Regions from separate parts of the Homo sapiens genome. Here region 1 is linked to region 2. The links are contacts of gene promoters, found by promoter capture Hi-C in human tissues and cell types (Jung and others, 2019). All regions are on one chromosome and are shown on one strand. Each heading gives the region's core, a stretch centred on a gene start or on the middle of the fragment in contact. The rest is flanking DNA. Distances are from core to core; before and after follow the strand shown.

Region 1 (6,525 bases), core at 260-2,759, 41 kb after region 2:
TGAGGCACAGAGAGGATGTGACCTCCCCAGGGTCAGAGTAAGTTGCAGTCAGGATTTGAATCCAGACAGACTGACTGTAGAGCTCCCTGCTGGATCTGAGGGAGCCAGAGTGCTCAAGTGTAGCTAGACTCTGGCCCACCAAAGCATCACCATAGTTGATGCTGAATACTTCATTTCATGCATCTAATAAGCATGTTCCACCTCACCACATTTCCTCCAGAATAGGGTCCAAGCGCATTTCTGTGAACATATTTTACAGTCACCCGCTTCCCTAACATAACACACCAGCCCACCCAGGCAGTGGAGAGACATCGTTAGGAGCAAAAGGCTTTGCTGTCCCAGAAGTCTGGGGTTACACCCGTGCTCTCCTATTCACTTGTATGCTTGAGCAATGTATTTAACTTCTCTTTGAGCCCCAGTTTTCTCATCTGTAAAATGGGAATAATAACAAACTTGTGCAGGTGACCTGAGATCATCTATGAAAGCTATTAGTACAATGTTTGACAATCACTTAAGAGTTCAATACTGTAAATGTTAGTCATTATTATTCAAATTGAGCATAGTGCTTTAATTATCTATGTTGAGGCAGTTGGAATACTGCATATTTCTCAAACTTTGATCCACAATAAATACGTTTGACTTCATAATTCCTTAAATATATACCTGTGTATATGTGTGCACATATATATGAAAAAAAATTTCCAAAGCAATACTTGCCCTTATTACATAAGATGCTGTACTCCAGCATTCTTTATTCTATTATGTTTCATGTCATATAAAAGCTAACAATGTCACCATTTATTTTTTGGCATACTAGTGAGTCATGACCTACACTTTGAAAAACATGGATAAAGAGTGAGCAAAAGCTTTGAAAATTCAGTTATACCATTCATATGCACTGTGAGCTTGGGCAAGTTACTCCTTCTCTCTGAACCTAATTTCTTCATCTATTTAGTGGAGATAATGGCCCCTAATTTGTTCAGGATTAGAGGTAATGTATTTACATAGTAAGCAGGTGCTAAGTAAATGGTACTTGTTAGATTACCAAAAGAATGTAACATCCGGCTCTTTTTTAAAACTTTAATATGCACTCTGTATACAAACCAAGATGCCCTGGATGCCTGTCTGTCAGAGCCATGTTTGGGCATAAGTTATTTAAATCTAGCATGAACAGGCCCTCTTTTTTAACCATAGAGATTCCACTCTCTCTCTAAATCCTGAGGATCTTAGATTCTTTCCCAGGAATCAAGACCAAAGTAGATGAAAAGATGGCTGGTAAGTTTCACCACACATATGTTGGGCAATAGGCGTTACTTTGGTGGCTATGGGACACAAGGGATAGCCAGTAAGAATGTGAACCACCCTCCATGGAAGCTCCTTGTCCCTCTCCAAAGCACATATCATTACTTCCTCTATCACTGCTTTTTTGGAGCACAAGTCTGGCCTAATAAAGGGCCTTCTTTGCATTTGGCCAAATCAGAGCCTTGAATCTCAGGTAGGTTGGTGTCTCAAGCTGTACCCTAAACTCACAGAGTACCAGAGCTAGAACATTATCTTTTTTTTTTTTTTTTTTGAGATGGAGTGTGGTGGAACAATCACAGCTCACTGCAGCCATGACTTCCCAGACTCAAGCGAAGCTCCCACCTCAGCCTCCTAAGTTGGTGGGACTACAGGCATGCACCACCACACCCAGCTAATTTTTTTTTTTTGTAGAGATGGGTCTTGCCATGTTGCCCAGGCTAGGCTTGAACTCCTGGGCTGAAGCCATCCTCCTGTCTTGGCTTCCCAAAATGCTGGGATTAAAGGTGTGAGTGACCATGCCTAGCCTACGTATGGTACTTTTAAAAAACTGTAATTATTATTATTATTATTTGAGATGGAGTCTCGCTTTGTCTCCCAGGCTGGAGTGCAGTGGCACTGTCTTGACTCACTGCAACCTCCACCTCCCAGGTTCATGCAATTCTCCTGCCTCAGCCTCCAGAGTAGCTGGGATTACAGGCACCCGCCACCATGCCCTGCTAATTTTTGTATTTTATTAGAGACAGGGTTTCACTATGTTGGCCAGGCTGGTCTCGAGCTCCTGACCTCAAGTGATCCGCCTGTCTCAGCCTCCCAAAGTGCTGGGATTACAGGTGTGAGCCACCACACCCGACCACTATCATCTTTTATACAGGGAAACATGACTTCCAGAATGGTGAAAAGACTTGCCCAAGGTTGCTCAGCAAGGAAGGAATTGATACAGGACTAGAAACCTGGACCCACTGCAGAAATAACCCACTGCTCTTAACACTTTTGGTCAAGATTCTCCTTGATTACACATCATGGTGATGATGATGATGATGATGACTCACATTCACAGGTCCACACCCCAGTACTCTTTATAGACTCAAATAGTATAGCTTCAGAAAGTACTGAACTGCCTAGAGAGTTCCAGGAGAACTCTGTGCATTTAGATATACTCTAAATCCCAGAACTCACAACCCAAATGAATACTTCTCCTCCGTAGGAAGTAAGGTGCTACTATTCTGCTTCTGTTAACCAGATCATTGTTAAAACATCTCTTGCTATCTCAGCCTCATTGTCTCACCACATTTTGGATACAAAAAGGTATTCCCTCTCAATTCATCATGCATAACTTAAGATGATATATGGCTCTTTCTAGAAAAAAAATCCACTCCAAAGGACAATGATTTGCAACTATTGATAATATTCAGATAGGTAAGTTAATTCTGAAAGTAATTCCCAAAGTCAGAGCTGAGAAAGGGAAAACATAGCATAGCATGTTCTTTGCCATTTGTTATTCTTAGGGGCTTCAATTTTTTTTGAAGCAATAGTAGAATGTTTGAAATGCATTTGTAGTTGTGGTCTCATGCCCGCACTTCGGGAGGCCAAGGCGGGAGTATCGCTAGAATCTAGGAGTTCAAGACCAGCCTGGGCAACATGGCAAAAACCCGTCTCTGCAAAAGAACACATACATTTGCTACTCAATCCCTCAACAGATGGATGCTTTGAAGGAGTCACCATTCATTTGTATGAGTTACTTCTCATATATGAATTAAAAAATAGTAGCTCTTTCAAGTCATATCTTGGTTACCCTAGCAACCCTCAGGCAAATAATCTCCATGGGTCAGTTTTCCCTAAGAAGGAGAGGATCTTCTCATTCTGGAGGGAAGAGGAGGCTTATTTCCTTGCCTATAATTTAGCTTAGGGAACTTGTATTATTTCTGTAAACATCCCATTAAAACACTATTGGCCTCTTTAAATAACCTTTTTTTTTTTTTTGAGATGGATTCTCCCTCTGTGGCCCAGGCTGGATGGAGTGCAGTGGCCCAATCTCGGCTCACTACAAGCTCCGCCTCCCAGGTTCACACCATTCTCCTGCCTCAGCCTCCCAAGTAGCTGGGACCACAGGCGCCCGCCACCATACCCGGCTAATTTTTTTGTATTTTTAGTAGAGACAGGGTTTCACCATGTTAGTCAGGATGGTCTCAATCTCCTGACTTTGTGATCCACCCATCTCAGCCTCCCAAAGTGCTGGGATTACAAACGTGAGCCACTGCGCCCAGCATTTTAAAGGCAATACCTTCAACAAAAGTATATGAATCTTTGAACCCAGACTTTGGACAACTAAACTCTATCTCTGTTTTTCCTTACTTCACAGACATAACTAAAATGTCCTTTGAGGAGCTTTGCTACAAGAACCCAAAGATGGCCATACAGAAGATCAGTGATGACTACAAAATATACTGTGAGAAAGCACCTAAAATAGGCAAGTGTTTAAAATCAGGGATAGACGAGGCAACTAGGTTTTTTCAAATCTAAGAGAAAATCTGTAATCTTGTGTTCTTTAAGGAACATAAGCCAAAAGAGGAACCATGCTCTGTTGGAAATGGAGAGGTGGTTAGGGGGTAATGACTATGTCTTTTTTCTCCTACGAAACCACAGAAGAGCATCATGAAAATAAGATGTAATCATAAATGAATGAAGTGATGATGGTTAAGATTGTTCATTTCTACTTTCTTATCTAGTTATCACTCTGGGGTTTTAATTAATGTGAATTCTTCTTCTGTCAAGTTACCTGGAGGCTGAGATTTGTGAAGGGATGTTTGTTAAGGAGTGCTCTTGGGAATAATACCTCTAAGAGAGTGAGGAAGGCAGGATTGGGGAGAGGTAGATGCTGAACTGTGAAGCAATCACAACAGGCCTCAGCAGATGCCATAAGAAACTCTGATGCCAGGGTGGCCCTTCAGAGTTGTCCCTCAGTGAGGTAAGAAATTTAATTTGGGCTTTAGTTCTTCCACATTGATCCACGGGAGATGTGAATGCCCCTGTGAAGGATATAACCTAGGGTTTATAGCCAGGCAGTTTCCTTTGGCTGAAGCAACTTCCAGAAGGGGCCTCCTCTCTGGGCCATCAGCAGCCAACACTCAGGCATCTAGGGGAATGAGTGCTTTGGCCCTGAAGGGAGGTTCTGGGTAGTACCCAGTACCACCCACTACTGTCCATTTGCTTTGTATAGAAATTTCACCTCATCTTGGAGTAGCTCCTCCAGGAATCTGATAGTTTCTTGTCCTGGGAAACGTATTTGAGAAAGGCAGGCTCACATTACTCTACCTTATCTGAAGACCATTGCTAATATTCCTCTTCTTCCTCTCCTGCTCCCCATCCTAGATTCCTCTCATGCTCAGCTAGCACCTCTGCTGGTCTTGGGGTCTTACTAGACTCTCATCTCTGGGATACCTGAGCCCCCGGTCATCACGACTTCTCAGGCTGTGGCTGCTTCACTTGTCAACCTATCATACAAATTGGGCCAGGGAATACCAAGAGTGGCAAGTGAATTGTCCAGTATCTGCTATGTAACATGATCTTAATGATTAGGATCAATTACCCTATCAGTACAGTGACTCCTTTGCTTGCCTGCTGACTTCTTGGCATAAGGAGCTTAATGCGATTGAACAGCTACTATTTCCTCTAGTAGAAGCATTCTGCCTCCAGGAACTAAGATCTCTAGACTGGCACTGTCCATTACAGGAGCCACTAGCCCCATGTGGCCACTGAGCACTTGAAATGTGACTGGTACATGTGGGTAAATAAAACACATTGTTAAAATTAATTTCACCCTTTTCTTTTTAGCTTTTTCAATGTGACTACTAGAAAATTTTAAATTATATACGTGGCTCACATTATATTTTTATTGGACAGCACTGGTCTAGACCTACAGAACCTAAAGGTATAAAGATGACAAATTTCCCTAAGTAAGTCTCTGATACTGATGGTAAATGGAACACTTCTTTCATTCATTGGTACCTGGGCCCATTTATTCTACTACTGAAGACACACCTTATAATGGTCTTTGAATTATCCTGGAAGATGATGCCTCATTTTCCTGAGGTATCGTCATTCTCCCCTAGCATTCTGGTAGCTTCAAGCTGCTTTCACAGCTGTGCCTTCAAAAAGTGGCTCCATCACTTCATCAAGCCAGCAGCTCTCAAAGGAAATAGAACTAGTAGATCTCATCTTCGTGGGACCCATTGGCCATTGCCACACCTTCTTTGCTATAAAGTGTATCCCTTGGTCAGAGGCAATGTTATGTGAGATCCCATTGAGGGATCAATCACTTATAAGCCCCGAGGTGGTGATGCTGTCTGAGACCTTGCAGCTAAGATACATATCAGTTCCAGTCAAAATGAATTGCTGCTCTTTCCAGAATAGAAGGTGTTCAGTGTAATCAGTTTGTCACTAAGTGGCTGGCTTTTATTAGGGATGTTACTATACTGGGTACTGGGGGCTCTGCATTTGTTTCTGTTGCCAGCAACTTGAGTGTTTGGCACTCAAACATGGGGCACATGCTGTTGGTCTGTACATAGCCTCCATCCCTGCCACCTAGAACTCTGTCCATGAGCTCACTGTGCCAGCACTACAGTGGCTTATGACAGAGACTTGCTGGCATCAACTGGCAGAGTGTCATTCTGTCTGCTTGGTTGTTTAGTGCCTCTTTCATGGTAGTTGTTTTTTGGAGGGCTTTAAGATGCAATACAAAGATCTCCACATGTCATGTTTTTTCTCATAGATCCATCCACATGTGTATATTCTCAGACCATTTTGTCCCCAGTATTCTAATCTTTCTCCTTCTAAGCCCCTGGCTTACCAGCCAAACCATTCATCACTGCCCATGAGTATGTATATATTCTTATCCTGGGCTACTTCTCTTTCCACACAAACGAATGCACAGGTTCGCCGCCAAAGTTCTGCTTATGGCGTTGCAGGGGATTTTTCTCTCCCCATCATCTTTCAGGATCACCACTGATAGAGGGCTTCAGCTGTTTATTTTCACCAAGATATTGAGATGGTCCATTCATGAAACAGGTTCAGCTTTTTTCCTCTTCTGTCAGCTGGTCATCAATGTGACCAGCCATAGATGTGATGACAGTGAAGTGGCAGTGCCACAGTGGTAATGACATGGGTGTCTGGGTCACCTGCTTAGGTAGTTTCTTGTACCTTCTGACCTGCCTCATGCCTGATTCC
Region 2 (6,969 bases), core at 3,169-5,668:
GGTAATGTCATCAGTTAAGGCAGGAACAGGCCATTTTCACTTCTTTTGTGGTGGAAAGTCATCAGTTAAGGCAGGAACCGGCCATCTGGATGTGTACGTGCAGGTCACAGGGGATATGATGGCTTAGCTTGGGCTCAGAAGCCTGACACTAATAAATTCATCTCTTGTAGTAAATGATTGCCTCCAAATATTATATCTCACAACTGTATCTTCCAGGTAAAATAATATTAACAGGCGCCTACAAAGCCACAGAGGATTATAGTTAAGGCCAGATACGATGGTGGAATAGGCAGACCTACTATTCGGATGACAAGGGCCTTTCTGTACTTCTCATGTCACAGCAGGTGTGAGCACTCTGACAGTGATCCTAATTACTTTGGAAAGTAAAACGAACTGAAGATTATGTTTGGGGAAAAACAGAAACAAAACCTTCAAATTACAGAGTGGAGTTTTGAAAAGAAAAGTGTAATGTTCAACACCGTGCACCAGAGGGCACCATATTTACATGAGCCTGGAAAGGGCACTTACTCTCCATTTGGTATTGAATGACCCATTTAAACGAAGTGACAGAGGGATAGAGAGAAGAGCAGGAAAAGTATATAAGCAAGTATTGTCCAAGCACCCAGTAAACATGATGTAGTTCTTCTTCCTGTTAAAGTTAGATGCATATGACTAAGCACAGAATCCAGTTAACATAGAGATATGTGTGTGTATCTCAAAAACCTTTTGGTCACTCACTCTCTGACCTTCTTTTTTATTTAGAGTGAAAATTTATTGTGTGAGTCTTGGAGGGACTGTCTCCCACTATGGATGCCAGAGGGGACCAGACAGTCTCTCTCCTGGCCCTGGCAGTAAGGACATGGATATCCTGTCCTGGACTCAGCAATCAGATCCTCCACCCAGAACTTTTATGTATATATATTTATATTTATAAATTTATATTTAATTATATATAATGCATATTCAATTTTAAAATTAAATATAGATATATACATTCACTTTTAAAATTTAAATATGATATGTACATTTAATTTTTAAAATTAAATATATGATATATATGTCATATACATTTAATTTTTAAAATTAAATATATATATGACATATACATTTAATTTTTAAAATTAAATATATGATATATATGACATATACATTTAATTTTTAAAATTAAATATATGATATATATGACATATACATTTAATTTTTAAAATTAAATATATGATATATACATTTAATTTTTAAAATTAAATATATGATATATACATTTATTTTTTAAATTAAATATGTGATATATACATTTAATCTTTAAAATTAAATATATGATATATACATTTAATCTTTAAAATTAAATATATGATATATACATTTAATCTTTAAAATTAAATATATGATATATACATTTAATCTTTAAAATTAAATATATGATATATACATTTAATCTTTAAAATTAAATATATGATATATACATTTAATCTTTAAAATTAAATATATGATATATACATTTAATCTTTAAAATTAAATATATGATATATAATTAAATATAGAATATATACACATTTAATTTTAAAAATCATTTTTTAATAGAGGTAGGGTCTTACTATGTTGCCCAGGCTGGTCTCAAACTCCTGGACTCAAGCGATCCACCTGCCACAGCCTCCCAAAATGCTGGGATTACAGGCATGAGTTACCATGACCAGCCCAAAACTTTTCATCTTGAAGGAAGACTCAGAAGCTCAGGAGCAATGAGAGGTTATGCATGGCAGTGCCTATGACAACAAACACTCAATAGCGGTGGTGCTAGCAGTAGTGGCACAATGGGGACAACCACAAATGCTGAAAAAGATGTGTTGTAGTTGAAATTGGTTCTTATTTCTACTGGAGGTCGTGTTAACCATCAAAAACAAAATAAGCGTAGTTATCATAATAGGCAGTTGAGCCTGTGTGGATATCTGAATGATCTAACCCACAGATTCTTTATAGTGGTTATTGATCATGGGGTCCTTAAAAAATGTGTGTTCATTCAATAAGATTCTACTGGAAAGTATAAGCTCTGTGATGGCAAGGATTTTAGACTGTTTATTCAGTGTTGCATCACAAACACCTAGAACAGTTTGTGTCACATAGACCTGCCCAATAAATATTTGTTGAGTGAATGAACAGGAGCCTAAAATGAGCCATCATGGTAGAAAATCAGGTCCCTCATCCAATTTTCAGCCCTGAGTCAGACCTAGAAGCTCTGAAATTTAAAAAAAAAAAAAAAAGCATTTTACCAGTTAGGAAGAATCTTGTAATATTTTGCAAGTATTTACGGTGAATATTCTTCTTAATCTTTGCCAAAGAGACCTGCTGTCATTTCCAGGGTAACTGTGCACTTGGGAAAAGGAGATGCCCAGAGTTTTGCAAACCAGATCAGATCTAGTAAATGTCAGATCTGAGATGTGAATGCAGCTCTATTTCATTTAGAAACCAATTTATTTGTTTGTTTGTTTGTTTGTTTGTTTGTTTGTTTGTTTTTGAGACAGAGTCTCATTCTGTTGCCCGGGCTGGGGTGGAATGGCACGATCTCAGCTCACTGCAAAATCTGCCTCCCAGATTCAAGCAATTCTTGTGCCTCAGACTTCTGAGTAGCTGGGATTACAGGTGCGCAACACCACATCTGGATAATTTTTTTGTATTTTTAGTAGAGAAGGGGTTTCCCCATGTTGGCCAGTCTGGTCTCTAACTCCTGTCCTCAAGTGATCCACCCACCTTGGCCTCCCAAAGTGCTGGGATTACAGACGTGAGCCACTGCATCTGGCCCCAATATTTTCTATATTTACCTGATGATAATAATTATCTGGGGGCACTTGGAAAATATACAGACTCCTGAGCCCCACCCCTTCTAAATCAGAATTGCCAGGGGACGGTCCCGGCAATTTAGGTTTTTAACAACAACCCTGTCAATAAGGTAATTCTTATTACCACACATTTGGGAGACATCTGGTGCCCTTTTCTTTTGGGAACTAGAAGGTCATGAAAGGGTCAGGGATCTAACCATTATGCATTTCAAGATTTAGCCAGTGATACTGGCTTTTCATCTTTACTGTTTTTAGAGTGACCCTATTTGGTTGTTAATGGCTCCAACAGTCAGCCTTTTTGAACTGTGGGAAAGACGGTGGGGCAGCAATTAGGACTCAAGGGTAGGTGCACACAGCTTGATTGAAAACAGTCTGAAAGCATTCCATCTTAAGGAATGTGAGCATATATTACTACTGTATATGCCATTATTTTAGGAGGAGACCTTGACTCTATTTATTTTGCAAAAGAGGTGATAATTCAAGGAATAATATGATATTGTAGAATCATGCAGTGCTTCACACTGAACTCTCTTAAGATGTGTGCATGTTAAACTGACTAATTAATAAGGTGAATAAGGTAATTGATAACAGATTGAAGAAGTATGGTAAGCTACAATCTCATCTTGCAATACATAGAACATCAAGATGTAAAGCAAGAATCTCTTCTCACTAAAATCACTTTAAAATGCAGTATTTGGTCTTTATATATTCTAAAGAAAGTACAGCACTTTTTCAAATGTAAGTGATATTGTATTGACGATTCATTATTAACAATAATCCTTCCAGTTTTCAGTTTTCCCTCCACCCCCCATAGGAAAGCCTTTTGGACATTATATAAGCTTCCCTACAATCCCAAGACTTAAAAGCCCTCTCTGGGTGTGACACTGAAGAATTCTATTCTCAGTAATTCTTGGCTAAAGTTTGAAGGATTATAGGGCTTTTGGTCTCTCATCTTAATATTTACTTCCTATTAGGGAAGAACAGGAGAAATGAAGAGTTGTTTAATGAGAAAACCAAGAGCCTGAAGAGTCTTCAGAGGAAGGGAGTTCAAACCTCTTGGAAGCTGATGTTTTAATTTTAATTTTTTAAAGATGAGGTTTCACTCTGTTGCCCAAGCTGAAGTTCAGTGGTGTGATCACAGCTCACAGCAGCCTTGAATTCCTGGGCTGAAGCAATGGAGGTTGATGTTTTAAATGGGCAGAATATCCAGGAGTTACTGCTTATTAAAATTACATCAAATGTAACCGTTTACAAGACCCTTAGGAGCTGAGTTTAGCAATGCAAAAGTCACCCTAGCATGGGAGAGGTTGGAGCAGACAAGAGATCTTGGGCACAATTATAAAGAACTTGTCAAATAAAATAGTATGAACTAAAGGCTTAAGTATAGGAGGAGTCTTGTATGTCCAAGGGGATTCAGCAGATTAGGTAAGATAAAGACTTATCTTCAGATTAAGGCCTACACCAGAGGTAAGTAGATCACTGCCAGATAGAATCTGGAACCCCTTAGAGAAGGTGTCATTACGTGTTCACAATGGATATAGTTCTATTGACTGGGGGGTAATTCTGCCCCTAACAAATTACTGTGTCAGGAAGAGCATGGCAACATGAGCAGTGCTGGTGAGTCTCTGCCAGGGATGTCTCCAAGGCCTTGAGTCTCTCAAATAAGGCAAACCATTCATCTTCCCAATTGTTAATAGATCTGAGCCATTCAGGGGCACCATGGGTGACTTTTGTGTTATTCATGCCTTTGTTTTCCTTCTCTTTCTCCTTCTTCCCCTTCCTCCTACCTTCTGCCACCAGATCTTTGAGGATAGTACAGGGCCTTATTCATAAGACAACTAAGGCAAGAGGGAGGAAGTAAAATGTGGATTGGGCCACCTCTCCTCCAGAGAGAAGACTGGTATGGGGTTTGAGATTATGCAGTGATTTCATTTGTTGCCAAGTCAATATTATTATGGCGTGGAATGGGTGCTAAAAGCCTTCTCAAATTATTAGGAAGTTTGAAGGCAGAACAGGTAAGAAGGAAAAACAAGAATGGAGAAATGAGAGGATGAGGAAGGGAAGGATGTACAGAGCCTTGTCTCTATATCTCCTTAAGACTGTTTTGGCAATGGCAAGCCCTAGCATAGTCAGGCCCCTTGCCACCAGCGGTGTGTGTAGCTGTGAACAACAATCACTAGGGAATTTCTGCCAAACCCCACTTTTCTGTATTCAGATGGGCTCAGTAATATACTCATTCAACAAATCCATGTTAGACTCTATGAATGATAAACAAACAAAAGTCCAAAAGATTGAAAATCATTGGCTGGGAGCGTTGGCTCACCCTTGTAATCCTAGTACTTTGGGAGGCTGAGGCAGGTGGATTACCTGAGGTCAGGAGTTCAAGACCAGCCTGGCCAACATGGTAAAACCCCATCTCTACTGAAAATACAGAAATTAGCCAGGTGTGGTGGCATGCACTGTAATCCCAGCTACTGGAGAGGTTGAGACACAAGAATCACTTGAATCTGGGAGGCAGAGTCTGCAGTGAGTTGAGATCTTGCCACTGCATTCCAGCCTGGGTGACGGAGTGAGACTTTGGCAAAAAAAAAAAAAAAAAAAGATTGAAGATTATCTTTTGAAAGAACAATTTATTCCACATTTACAGAACTTAGACATTGTGCAAACACTTTTAGAGCCTAGAGGAAGAAAGGTGAAAAAACAAAGTCCCTCCTCTCACACGCTCAGTCTGATGAGGAAGACAGATATATCGATGGATAAAAACAGTCAGACTTGTTAATTGTAATAATGGAGGATATACGTGATGGTATAGGGAGATAGTGATGAATTCTACCATTGCAGTAGATTCTACCTTTCTTGGCTCACCAAGATTATATGTAAACCAGTTCTTAATGGATGACTATTAATTTGTGAGCTGACTGTGCTTAAGAAAACATTTGAAGCAATGGGAATATGGGAACAAAGACATGGAGGTTTCAAGTGAGAGTACCTAGCACATGCAGGAAACAGCAATGCCTTGGCTTAGCTTGCAAACAGGAGGCAGAGTGCGCAGAGAGGCAGGAAATGAGACTGGGAGGAAACTCAAAAGCCAGATGGGGTAAAGCCTCAGATACTATACTAGAGAGTTTGGACTTTACCTTCTAGGACATCAAGGAGATTTTGAAAGACTTTAACAATAATAATATCAACAGATTATGGTGGCAGTACGTGTAGGGTGGTTGGAAGGGCAAGAGGTGGGAGCTAGGGAGACCATTTAAGAAGCTGATGCAGAAGTCTAGGTGAGAGAGCATAGAGGCCTGTAATGGAAGAGTAACTTTATGGATGGAAAGGAGAAGACAGATTCCAGAGATAGGTACAAAGAGAAACCATACAGCATGATCCCCCATTGCATGTAGGGACATGGAGGGGAGAGAGAGAGAACAAGAGAGTAAGAGCAAGAGTAAGAGAGATTGAGAGTGAGAGTGAGAGTGAGAGACAGGGACAGAGACAGAGAGAAGAGCCTCAGTTTTCAGGATTAGATAATTTATTGAATGATAATTCCAGTAACTGGGACTGGGAATGTAGGAAAAGGAGCAGGTTGGGAGGCCTGGACACATTGAACATGTTGAGATGAAAGTGCCTGATGGATATGCATGTAGAGCTGGCCCATAGCTCATGTATATTTAAAACCAGAGTGAAGGAGAGAAGCCTGGACTGAAAACACAGATTTTGGAATCACCCATATGGAATAGATTAAATAAATCAAGGACTGCTTATAAAAAGAAGAGCAGAGGGCTTGGGAGGGGTACACATAAAACACACATAGCACTTGACAGCAAGAAAAAAGATGTATGTGAACAGAGGGCAAGTGCTGATACCAGCTCTGTCACTCACAATAGTGTTTATCTGGGTTTCCTTTTTTTTTTTTTTGAGACAGAGTCTCACTCTGTCACTCAGGCTGGAGTGCAGTGGTGCGATCTCGGCTCACTGCAACCTCCACCTCCTGGCTTCAAGCGATTCTCCTGCCTCAGCCTCCCAAGTAGTTGGGATTACAGGCTCCCGCCACTATGCCTGGCTAATTTTTGTATTTTTAGTAGAGACAGGGTTTCATCATGTTGGTCAGCCTGGTCTTGAGCTCCTGGCCTCAAGCAATCCA

What was found. Contacts are between HindIII fragments. The study calls those that stand out against the background at their distance.
Region 1: a fragment that was not itself captured here is called in contact with the fragment with the promoter of RGSL1 in region 2 in 1 of the 25 tissues and cell types used here (H1 embryonic stem cells).

What each region holds. Positions count from the first base shown.
Region 1 is chr1:182,489,361-182,495,885 of GRCh38, forward strand. RGSL1 (regulator of G protein signaling like 1) reads left to right here. Exons shown (of 22, transcript NM_001137669.2): 9 at 3,662-3,769. Among named protein-coding and RNA genes, the nearest start is that of RGSL1, 42 kb to the left of the region's middle. The HindIII fragment of the contact is 9,571 bases long and covers 1-6,295 here.
Region 2 is chr1:182,445,728-182,452,696 of GRCh38, forward strand. It overlaps RGSL1 (regulator of G protein signaling like 1), which reads left to right and starts at 4,419. Exons shown (of 22, transcript NM_001137669.2): 1 at 4,419-4,451. The coding sequence starts at 4,439. RefSeq lists an enhancer at 4,257-4,864. The HindIII fragment of the contact is 7,176 bases long and covers 1,028-6,969 here.